Linked DNA regions of Homo sapiens: regions 1 and 3 are each linked to region 2. Evidence: promoter capture Hi-C in 16 types of primary human blood cells and fetal thymus (Javierre and others, 2016). All regions are on one chromosome and are shown on one strand. Each heading gives the region's core, a stretch centred on a gene start or on the middle of the fragment in contact. The rest is flanking DNA. Distances are from core to core; before and after follow the strand shown.

Region 1 (3,458 bases), core at 921-3,420, about 11 Mb before region 2:
AGGCTTTTGCACGGGGCGGGTGGTCACCTTAAGCTATATTCTGATCCTGAGAATTCAAAGTCTGATGATTCTAAGCTGTCAGGATTCTAAATGTCATAGATGTCAAGATCCAGGAACTCCAAGACATCAAGATTTCACGATTTTTAAGACGTCAAGATGCTAGCATGCTAACACCATCACGGTTCTAGAACTTTAAAGGTGTCAAGATTCTAAAGCCTTCTGGATTCTAGAATCCTGTAGATGTCAGCATTCTAAAGTACCATCAGGTTCTTTATTTACTGGATTCATTAGTTCCAGGATTCTATGAGCCTGGTGTTTAGCCTAAAAAATAAAGATAAATTAAAATTGATGGAAATGTCACTGAGGTACCAAAGTTCTCATCTGGGAAATTGTGGCATGTCTGTTGTAAAGAAAGGAGGTAATGATGCAAGTTCTAAAGCAGTCACAGAAGACTAGAGAAGAAAGAAAGACAGTGAGAGGACAGCTTTGCCCCTCATCCTGGCCGAGGTGAGGATGGCTCTGCCTCAAACCCTGGAGTGGGGAACATGTAACCGCACTCAACTTGCCAGAAACCCCTTCACGGTCTGAGCTGGCGTTCCCTTTCATGTCACTGAGTTCAACATCCTCACTTTACAGAAAGAGAAACAGAAGCCTGGAGAGAGGAAGGTGTTTACCATTGGCTGCGATGGCAAATGGCAAGAGCCAAGATTTAAGCCCAGGCCGCCAGCCCCATGCCACCTGGTTATAACTCCTCTCACCAATCTCTGCCGAACACCCAGCCCTCCTGCTTCTGCCTAGCCACCTTCCAATCCTCTGTTCCTTCCAAAAGTGGCCTTATCCACCAGGGAGGGGTGACCCGTGGCAGGTTCAAGACTTACACAGTGTGAGAGTGTGTGTGGGTGACATTTCCTGACCTTGTCCCCATTCTCAGGGTCACCCAACCTCGGGGGTCTCCAGCTTCTCACAGTGTGTGATGAGGGTATGTGGATGGCTCCCTGGATGTCCTGGACAGGGGCTTCTCTGTGAGTCAAGCCTGGGTGTGTGAATGGGTGAGCAGGGTTTGGAGAGGCATTCGCTGAATCCACGTGTGTGCCTACACGCCAAGGTCCCCCATTCTCACTTCCCCACACACATGCACACAGATGTTCCCCTCCAGGGCTCTTTAGAATGCCCTGCCTGACTGAATTCCTCTTCAGGGGCACAGAGGGATAGAGAGAGGGAGGAAGGTAGGATGGGAATGGGAGATCCCGGGATGGAGGCTGTAAGCGTAGAGAGAGGAGGCACAGCAGAAAGACAGGGATGGAGATAGTGGGACAGAGAAGGGGGAAAGAGACAGGTGACAGAAAGGGTTAGAGAAACGAGTGACAGAAAGACAGGGGACAGAGACAAGGGGATGGGGCAGATAGGGGACAGAGAAAAAGGGACAGAAAAACAAGGGTGACAGCGAGACAGAGACAGGGACCAAGAATAGGGGCAGAGAGGGAGGGCAGAAATCCGGGGGAAAGAGAATAGACAGGATGATGGAGGGGACAGAGTGACCCAGGAAAAGGGGACAGAGACCAGGGGACAGAGGTAGGGGACAAAGACAGAATAGATGAGGAACACCGAGGCAAGAAGAGAGGGAGACAGACAGAAGGAGGGACAGGACTTCGAGACTGAGGGATAGAGGACAAGGGTAGGGGGACGAGGAGCCAGACGGGGGGGTTCAGAGACGGGCGGACAGAGGGACGCAGAGACTGGACAGAAGGACAGCGGGACCGGCCTGGGGAGGGCGGACTTGTGTGTGTAGGGGGGTCTCGGGCCCTTTGTCCCCGCCGGGATCCAGCCTGCGCGGGTGGGGGGGCTGCGGCACGGCGGCCGGGCCCCGCGCCCCCTCCCCCGCTCGTCGCTCCCGGCTCCCGGCCCGCGCTGCGCTTTGTCCCGGGGAGGGGGCCCGGCCCGGCCCCGCGCGCATTGTTCGGCCTCTGCGGCCCCGAGGCTGCCGGGCTGTCACCACAGCGCGCCCCCCGCCCCAGCCCGGCCGGCCGACCCCGGCCCCCGACCCTACCTGGCCCCGCCGCGGCCGCCCACAGCAGCAGCAGCGGCCACTGGAAGCGCCGGGCCCGGCCCATGGTGCCGCCGCCGCCGCCGCCGCCGCTCGCTCCCGGCCCGGCACCTGCACCGCCCGCGCCGCCCGCCCCGCCCCCCGCGCCCCGCCCCCTGCCCGCCCGGGGGCGGGGCGCCGAGGCCGGGGCGGGGCCGGGGAGGGGAGGGGGAGACGGAGGAGAGGCCCGGAGACAATCGGGGGGACGGCACGGTGGGGGAACGGTGCGGGGTGCGAAAGCTGGAGAGGAGAGGGGTGAGGAGGGCGGGAAGGGGTGCGCGGGAGGGCGACAGCGGCGTGGGAGCAGGTGGGGGATCTCGGTGAGCGCGGGAAATGGAGGGTGTTGGGTGAGGGTGCTGCGTGCGGGCCCAGGTGCTGCGCGCGAGGGTGCGGAGTTGCTGGCATGCAGGGTGCTTGCGCTGCGCGGAGGGGAGGGTGGCAGGGTGTTGCTGGAGGCTGTGCGAGGGTGGGGGCGCGGGCGTCGTGGGGTGCGGTGTGTGCGAAGGGAGAGCGTGGCCAGCGTGACGGGGGAGCGTAAGGGAGGGAGTGCGACGTGGGAAAGGTGAGTGTGAGAGGCGTGCTGCGGGCAGGTGGGTGTCTGGAGTCTAGCGAGAGGCTGTGAGCTGAGCCACCGGGACAGGGGAGGCTGCAGCTGGAGGTCCGGAGGGTCCGGAGGTCGAGGCAGGTCAAGGATCTCCCAGGGCAGGGCGAGGCTGGGGCTCAGGAGTGGGGTGGGGTCAGTTCCCTCCCTCCCTCTCTCCTGTCCTGACCTGAAAACCCCGTGTTTCCGCGTCATTCTCCGGGAGGGGCCCCCTGAAAGTGAACTAACTGGAAGGAAGCCTGAATCCTGGGTCCCAGGAGGGAGAGGCTCCTGTGAACACCTTCCAAGCCCTGGCGTCCCCTCTCCTCCCTGCTGTCTCCCTGCCCCAGCCTCTCTCCCTCTCTCTGCATGTATTTGCCTCTGCCCTTCCTCTCTCCCCATCTTTGAGGGTGACTCACCCCTCCAGACTTAGGTCCCTTCTCCCTCCTGGGAGTGGGTTTCCCTGAGCCCACTTCTGTGACACCCTGTAGACCTGATGCGGGATCATTACCTATGGGACCCAGAAAGAGTGAGAAACCATGGAAAGAAGGCCTCGACCTCTCTCATGCCCATTTGTCAGGCAAACTGAGGTCCAGAAGTGCCAATTATGAACATCTTTCCTTCCCCCCTCCCCCCTCCCCGCCCAGACGGAGTCTCGCTCTGTTGCCCAGGCTGGAGTGCAGTGGCACGATCTCGACTCACTGCAACCTCTGCCTCCCAGGTTCCAGTGATTCTCCTGCCTCAGCCTCCCGAGTAGCTGAGATTACAGGCGCCCGCCACCATGCCTAGCTAATT
Region 2 (3,226 bases), core at 558-3,057:
CATTTTATCGCTGTATCTGTGTACAGAATGCTAAAGAATAAGACATAAAAAATAAAAGTACAGTTATAAACACCTCTTTTAAAAGGCAGAGACTGTTCGCTTGGGCAAAAAAAAGCAAGATCCAACTACATGCTATCTACAAGAAACCCACCCTAAATACAACAGGTAAAAGGAAGCTAAATGGAACGTGGGTCCTGGCTTGTACCCTGGCATGTAAAGAAAACATTGGAGGAAAAGGTGGTGAAATCCCAGTAAAGTCTGGGTTTTAGTTACAGTAATGCATCATGTCAGTATCTACAACAAACCACTTTTGTTGGTGCTTGTGATGACAGCATCAGAAGAAAGTGGGCATAAAACATGGTGGACTGCTTATGATCTTTGCAACTTTTCTTTTTTTTTTTTTTGAGACAAGAATTTCACTCTTGTTGCCCAGGCTGGAGTGCAATGGTGTAACCTCGGCTCACTGCAACCTTGGCCTCCTGGGTTCAAGCGATTCTCCTGCCTCAGCCTCCCGAGTAGCCGGGATTACAGGTGCACGCGCCACCACGCCCAGCTAATTTCTGTATTTTTAGTAGAGACGGGACTTCACCATGTTGGCCAGGCTGATCTTGAACTCCTGACCCCAGGTGATCCACCCATCTCGGCCTCCCAAAGTGTTGGGATTACAGGCGTGAGCCAGCGCGCCCGGTCTTTGCAACGTTTTGAATAAATCCAAAATTATTCCAGAACAAAAAGCTTAGTACCAAAAAGAAAACAAAAACAAAAACAAAACAAACCCCCCCCCCCCCACAGAGTAAAATAACGGAAAAAGATCTACTATGCTAGCACTAACAAAATAATACGTAGTTATGAAAATGGTATGTATTTTTCAAGCTAGACGTTCATAATGGTAGAACATGAGGAGGAAAACTGCCTCTTAAATCCCACCACTTACTGTGACACAGTGACCGGTCCCTGCAGCGGACTGGATAGTTGTATCAGAGTCCTGGACGGAAACAGATGGCACTCAAAAGGTGGCGCGCAGTTCAGAGAAATGCCTATGTACGGATTTGGTCCAATGCCTCAGCCTGACCTCAGGGACCTTCGGGGGTCTGCTCCGCGCCCACCCTTACACATCTGTGACCCCACACACTTCCACCCCAGCGCCACTGCCAACAGCTACACCCATCCCCCTCCAACCGCGTCAGCTTCCAGCCTCGGTCCATCTGAACTCGCCGTGCCCCCTCCCCTGCGCCCTTCCAGATTCATTTGCTAGGGAAGCCCGCTCTTCCGGGTGGAGCTGTTCCTCATCCCCTTTCTTTATCATTCTCTCCCCAGGGCTTCCACATCACCGTGCTGTGGACAATCCCGGAACTCCTGTCACGCCAGTTTACATTTAGGAACAGTAATGGCTCCCACTGACTCAGTCAAAACAAGGCTGCGGCCGGGCACGGTGGCTCACGCCCGTAATCCCAGCACTTTGGGAAGCCGAGACGGAGGGATCACGAGGTCAGGAGTTCGAGAACAGCCTGGCCGACATGGTGAAACCCCGTCTTTACTAAAAACACAAAAATTAGCCGGGCATAGTGGCGCGCGCCTGTAATCCCAGCTACTCCGGAGGCTGAGGCAGAATTGTTTGAACCCAGGAGGCGGAGGTTGCAGTGAGCAGAGATCACGCCACTGTACTCTATCGTGGGCGACGACAGAGCAAGAGCAAGACTCCGTCTCCGAGAACAACAACAACAGCAACAAGAAAACAACAATAAAAAAAATAAGGCTGCGTGGGAGGCAGAAAGAGCTAATGCGGCCACGCTTGTCTCCTCGGGGCCACCGTCCCCACCCAGACTTCCGGTCTGCCTTAAAATGTTCATGCGTAAGTGCGTGGGCAGGAAGGCGGGCTCAAGCGCAGCTCGTGGCGTTCATTGGCTGTGCAGGGCCGAGGGAGGCGGTGCAAGGCCGCCGCGTGACGTCAGGACGCCGCGGTCAGGACGTCGAAGCCAAAGAAGACCAGAGCCAGCCGGGTGGCACAGCGGTGTCGTGGCCGTGTTGCTGATCGCCTGGGTGGTTGTTGGCGTGTCCCTGCAGCGAAGGATCCTGGTTGGTAAGGGGAGCGGCAGGCGAGCAGGCGGGCGGGGATAGCATCTCCTTTTGGTCTTGCGCCCCGCGAGCCCCGAGGCCTTCTCGGCCGTCGCAGCAGCAGACGCCGCGCGCGAGCGTCGACAGGGTGTGGCGGCGCAGGGGCAGCCACTGCGCCTGCGCACCGGGCCTGGGGCCGCGCGTTCGGGCACTAGCGCGCGTGCGCCGTCGTCTTCTAATTTCCGTTCCTCTCCCTTGGAGTTCTCGGGGCCCCGGGGCGCCCCTCACTCGCCGTTGACCGGGTGTTGCCCCGGGCGACGGGCGGCTCCTGCGCGTCTTTCTGGGGCGTGGTGCGCAGGCGCGGCCTGGGCAGTGGCTCCGTGGCTAGTCGTGGGGATCCGAGCGGCCTCCTCCACCCGGCGTCCTCCTTTGCCTTCGCCCAGCCTGCGGGACGGCCAGGTGCTCCCGGGACCTCAGGCCTCGCGTCTGATGCCTGTCTCTGTTCTTGAGACCCGTCCGGGAGTCCTCTGTCCAGCCCCCAACTCCTGACCTTACCTCTAATCTCCCTTCTGCCCTGGGGCTCCTCTTCCTGTGTCCCCGCCACGATCCCTCGTCTCCACCCACGCCCTGTGTCCTGTTTAAGTTAAGCCTTTGCGTTTCTAGGGCTTTTCCCCAGCTCCAGACTCCCGTTCCTATCCCGTCAACTCGTGGGAATTCCGGTTCTCCTGCGGGATTAATTATCCTACTTATCAGTTACTCCCTCTCGGGAGTTTAGGCTCCTGAATCCTTGCTCCGGAGACACTCCACTTTTCTTCCAATTCTCTCTGTACCCCACTCTTAATTCGTTGAACATGTTTTGGGTCTTCTTTGGCATTCCCAAAGCTTTATGTCCAGACACCCAACCACGGTGATCCCTTTTCTCTCCCAGCCCTACCCCTGCTTCCGGGAACCTCCCGTGGAAGCAGGCAGGGGTAGTCCCACTGAGGACTCCCACGTAGGTCTCTTTACTGCCCTTCGGAGACCTTTTTGAAATCAGTCTGTCAGTGCTAAGAACCCATTTCTTCACGTTGGGGTTCACGTTGGCATTCTCAGGAACGCTCAACGACCACTTGCTTCCAGGGTTAACTTCCGGAAAATCCCCTTTTCCTCTCAAAATTTTCTTCTCTTCTCC
Region 3 (3,660 bases), core at 664-3,163, about 16 Mb before region 2:
CCCAAGTTCAAGTGATTCTCCTGCCTCAGCCTCCCGAGTGAGTAACTGGGATTGCAGGCACCCGCCACCATACCTGGATAGATAATTTTTTGTATAGTAGAGACGGAGTTTCACCATGTTGGCTAGGCTGGTCTCAAACTCCTGACCTCAGGTGATCCATCCACTTCAGCCTCCCAAAGTGCTGAGATTACAGACTTGAGCCACCACACCCGGCCATCATTTTTGTTTAAAACATTTTTTACCACCACAACTTCTTTCACATATTAATTTACTCATTAATTCAACACATATATAATTTCTTTCTTTTTCTTTTTTTCTTTTTTCTTTTTTTTTTTTTGAGCACAGTCTCGCTCTGTCACCCAGGCAGGAGTGCAATGGCGATCTCAGTTCACTGCAACCTCTGCCTCCCGGGTTCAAGTGCTTCTCCTGCCTCAGCCTCCCAAGTAGCTGTACTACAGATGTGCACCACCACGCCCGGCAAATTTTTGGTATTTTTACATTTATTTATTTATTTTCTCTGAGACAGAGTCTCACTCTGTCACCCAGGCTGGAGTGCAGCGGCACAATCTCAGCTCACTACAAGCTGACCTCCTGGGTTTAAGCGATTCTCCTGCCTCGGGCTCCTGAGTATCTGGGATTACAGGTGTGTGCCACCACGCACAGCTGGTTTTTTTGTTTTTTTTTTTTGGTATTTGCAGTACAGATGGGGTTTCGCCATGTTGGCCAGGTTGGTCTCGAACTCCTGACCTCAAGTGATCTATCTGCCTCGGCTTCCCAAAGTGCTGGGATTACAGGCATGAGCCACCATGCCTGGCCAACAAATATTTATTGACTGTCTACTAATATTTGCCAAGCACTGAGATACTGGGAATTCAGTAGTGAAGGAAATCGTCCTGCCTTCATGGAGATGACATTCTAAATGGTGGAGACGGAGAGTGAAAGTCGGGTTTGAGAAAAACGTGCTGCCCAGGCGCAGTGGCTCACACCTCTAATCCCAACACTTTGCGAGGTCAAGGCAGGAATATCGCTTGAGCTCAGGAGTTCGAGACCAGCCTGGGCAGTATAATGAGACTCTGTCTCTATAAAAAATTTAATTTTTTTTAAAAAGAGAGAAAAAGCGATGTTGAATGTGCAGATGTAATATCAATCAGTGGAGGAAGAAGTTGGTATAAGAAGTTGTGAATACTGGCCAGGCAAGGTGGCTCATGCCTGTAATCCCAGCATTTCGGGAGGCCAGGGCCCAGGGAATCGCCTGAGTTCAGGAGTTGGAGACCAGCCTGACCAACATCTACTAAAAATACTAAAATTACGTCTCTACTAAAAATACGAAAATTAGCCAGGCGTGGTGGCACATGCTTGTAATCCCAGCTACTTGGGAAGCTGGGGCAGAAGAATCACTTGTACCCAGGAGGCGGAGGATGCAGTGAGCCAAGATTGCTCCATTGCACTCCAGCCTGGACAACAAGAGCTAAACTCCGTCTCAAAAAAAAAAAATTGTGAATCCTCCACTTACACATGACATTGAAAGCCATAGAGCTGGATGAGTTTTGTAACTAGTTAGTTCATATAAGCTTGGGAAAAAAATGTGGAAGGATGCATTGAAAAAGACTGGAGAGGGAGCCCCAGGTACACATCCTAGCTGTTAGTCCTTTGGAAGGTTACCCAGCCTCTCAGTCTGTCTATAAAATGAGAATAACACAGCTCTCCAAATGGCACGACACCCGCTACCTTTTGGCTTGGAGACGCTGCCCCGAAGGCGGAACCTCCAGGACAGCTACGTAGCGTCCCGAGCACTCAGACTGAAGCCAGGGCAGCCATGTTCATTATTGGAACCGTGAGGTGGGTAGGGGGGGTGGTGTTGAGACAGCTGTCATTTTCAGTTAGGGCAAAAGCCAACTTCCGGTCACCATCTTGAGTGACGACAGAGGCGGAGCTCCAACTGACATGTTCATTAAGGGCAGGGCTCCGAGGGCGCCACCTCGAGAGCGACGGCGGGCTACCCGGGGCGGGCTGAGGCAGGTTGTAGCCCCGCCCCGGGCCTTGGGCTCCACCTCTCGGCCCCACTTCCGCCGGGCAAGCGTTTGTAGGCGGCGCTGCCGTAAATCAGGCGGTCTGCTTGCCGCATCACGCAAGATGGCGGCCGCGGCGGTGAACGGGGCGGCAGGCTTCTCGAGCTCCGGGCCCGCGGCAACCTCGGGCGCTGTTCTGCAGGCCGCGACCGGCATGTACGAGCAACTCAAGGGCGAGTGGAACCGTAAAAGCCCCAATCTTAGCAAGTGCGGGGAAGAGCTGGGTCGACTCAAGGTAAAGTCGGCAGGCCCAGGAAACCGAGTGTTGCGGGCGTGGGAGGCGCTACGAGGTGTCTGGACCCAACCAAGTCCCGGGCCGCGGAAGCCACCTCGGTGCCAGCGAGACTGAGGCGGGCTGGGGGATCCGATGGGGTGAAAGATTTGGAACAGCCAAAGTGGGGGCTCGGAGGGCGTCAAGAAGCGAGAGAGGGACAGGGAGCGTTGATGGTCACGCCTGTAATCGCAGCGCTTTGGGAGGCCGAGGCGGGGGAGCGTCGCTTGAGCCCAGGAGTTCAAGATCAGCCTGAGCAACATAGCGAGACTCTGTCTCTACATTTTTTTTTTAAGTGAGAGATGACTGGAATGGACCCACGCGGGGGTGGTGGGGGAATGATTGGAAGACTTATGGCAGAACTGAGTGAGGGGTTAGATTTTTGGTGCGTGGAGGCTTAACTGGTCGGAGTGGCAGGATTGGGATTCGGGCTTTTCCTGATGGTGGATTCCAGGCAAGACCAAGTGGGAAGTGAGGACTGCCCGGAGTGATAAAAGAATGAGGCTGAAAAGGTGGGCTGTGTAGAGGGTGTGTGGTTAAGACCAGGCTGGGTTAGGATCTGAGAGATCTGGGGCTTAGGCTCGCATCTGTTGGGAGAGGGGGCAGCCTAGTTGTGAAGGCAGGACTGAACCTAGAAGAAATATTCTTACAAGTAGAGAACAAGAATACGGGGCCCAGAGTGCTTCAGACCAAACATCTGTTGGGAGGGAGTGTAAATCCAGTGGCTTGGAACAAGCTGCTGAGCCTGCTAAGGAAAGATGTATGGGCTGAACTGTGGGGGGAGATTTGGACCTCCCCCTCCCAGATATAGATTTTGGGGATAGCCCAGCTACCCCTTCCCCAATAGATTGTGGGGAAGATGGGCCAAGAATGGAATGTACTCCTGTCCCCACCGCCGCGTGATTCCACTGGGTCAGGCACTGAGTGTCCCTCCTTGTTTCCCCAGTGGGGCTATTAATAATTGTAATGTGATGTAATCTTAAATGGGCATGTGTTGCGTGCTCAGGCCCTGTTCTGAGTGCTTTATGAGAAAGCATTCCTCATGAGTCTGGATGATGGTTAGCTCCATTTTCCAAGTGGGAAGACCAGAGCGTAGAGCAGGTAAGTCATCTGTATTTGAATTCCCTTCTTTTCTTTCTTCCCTCCCTCCCCTCCCCATCAGCTAGTTCTTCTGGAGCTCAACTTCTTGCCAACCACAGGGACCAAGCTGACCAAACAGCAGCTAATTCTGGCCCGTGAGTGTCACTGGGGTTGGTTGGGGGTGATAATCTGGGGGTCATGGCAGGAATGGTAGCACTGGTGGTTGGGGAAGAGACCTCA

What was found. Contacts are between HindIII fragments. The CHiCAGO score rates a contact against its expected background, and 5 or more counts as called.
Region 1: a contact is called between the fragment with the promoter of CADM4 here and the fragment with the promoter of LENG8-AS1 in region 2, in 1 of 17 cell types (non-activated CD4 T cells). The highest score is 5.1, in non-activated CD4 T cells.
Region 3: the fragment with the promoter of PSMD8 here is called in contact with the fragment with the promoter of LENG8-AS1 in region 2 in 3 of 17 cell types (naive CD8 T cells, naive CD4 T cells and total CD8 T cells); the score reaches 6.2 in naive CD8 T cells.

The regions. Positions count from the first base shown.
Region 1 is chr19:43,637,680-43,641,137 of GRCh38, forward strand. CADM4 (cell adhesion molecule 4) reads right to left here and starts at 2,171. Exons shown (of 9, transcript NM_145296.2): 1 at 2,048-2,171. The coding sequence starts at 2,111. RefSeq lists a silencer at 2,055-2,194. The HindIII fragment of the contact is 9,580 bases long and covers 1-3,458 here.
Region 2 is chr19:54,447,231-54,450,456 of GRCh38, forward strand. LENG8-AS1 (LENG8 antisense RNA 1) reads right to left here and starts at 1,808. Exons shown (of 3, transcript NR_126418.1): 1 at 1,332-1,808; 2 at 935-985. LENG8 (leukocyte receptor cluster member 8) reads left to right here and starts at 1,969. Exons shown (of 16, transcript NM_052925.4): 1 at 1,969-2,080. RefSeq lists an enhancer at 1,719-2,626. The HindIII fragment of the contact is 2,202 bases long and covers 734-2,935 here.
Region 3 is chr19:38,372,658-38,376,317 of GRCh38, forward strand. It overlaps PSMD8 (proteasome 26S subunit, non-ATPase 8), which reads left to right and starts at 1,914. Exons shown (of 7, transcript NM_002812.5): 1 at 1,914-2,304; 2 at 3,503-3,575. The coding sequence starts at 1,945. RefSeq lists enhancers at 1,823-2,453, 2,084-2,223. The HindIII fragment of the contact is 10,393 bases long and covers 1,570-3,660 here.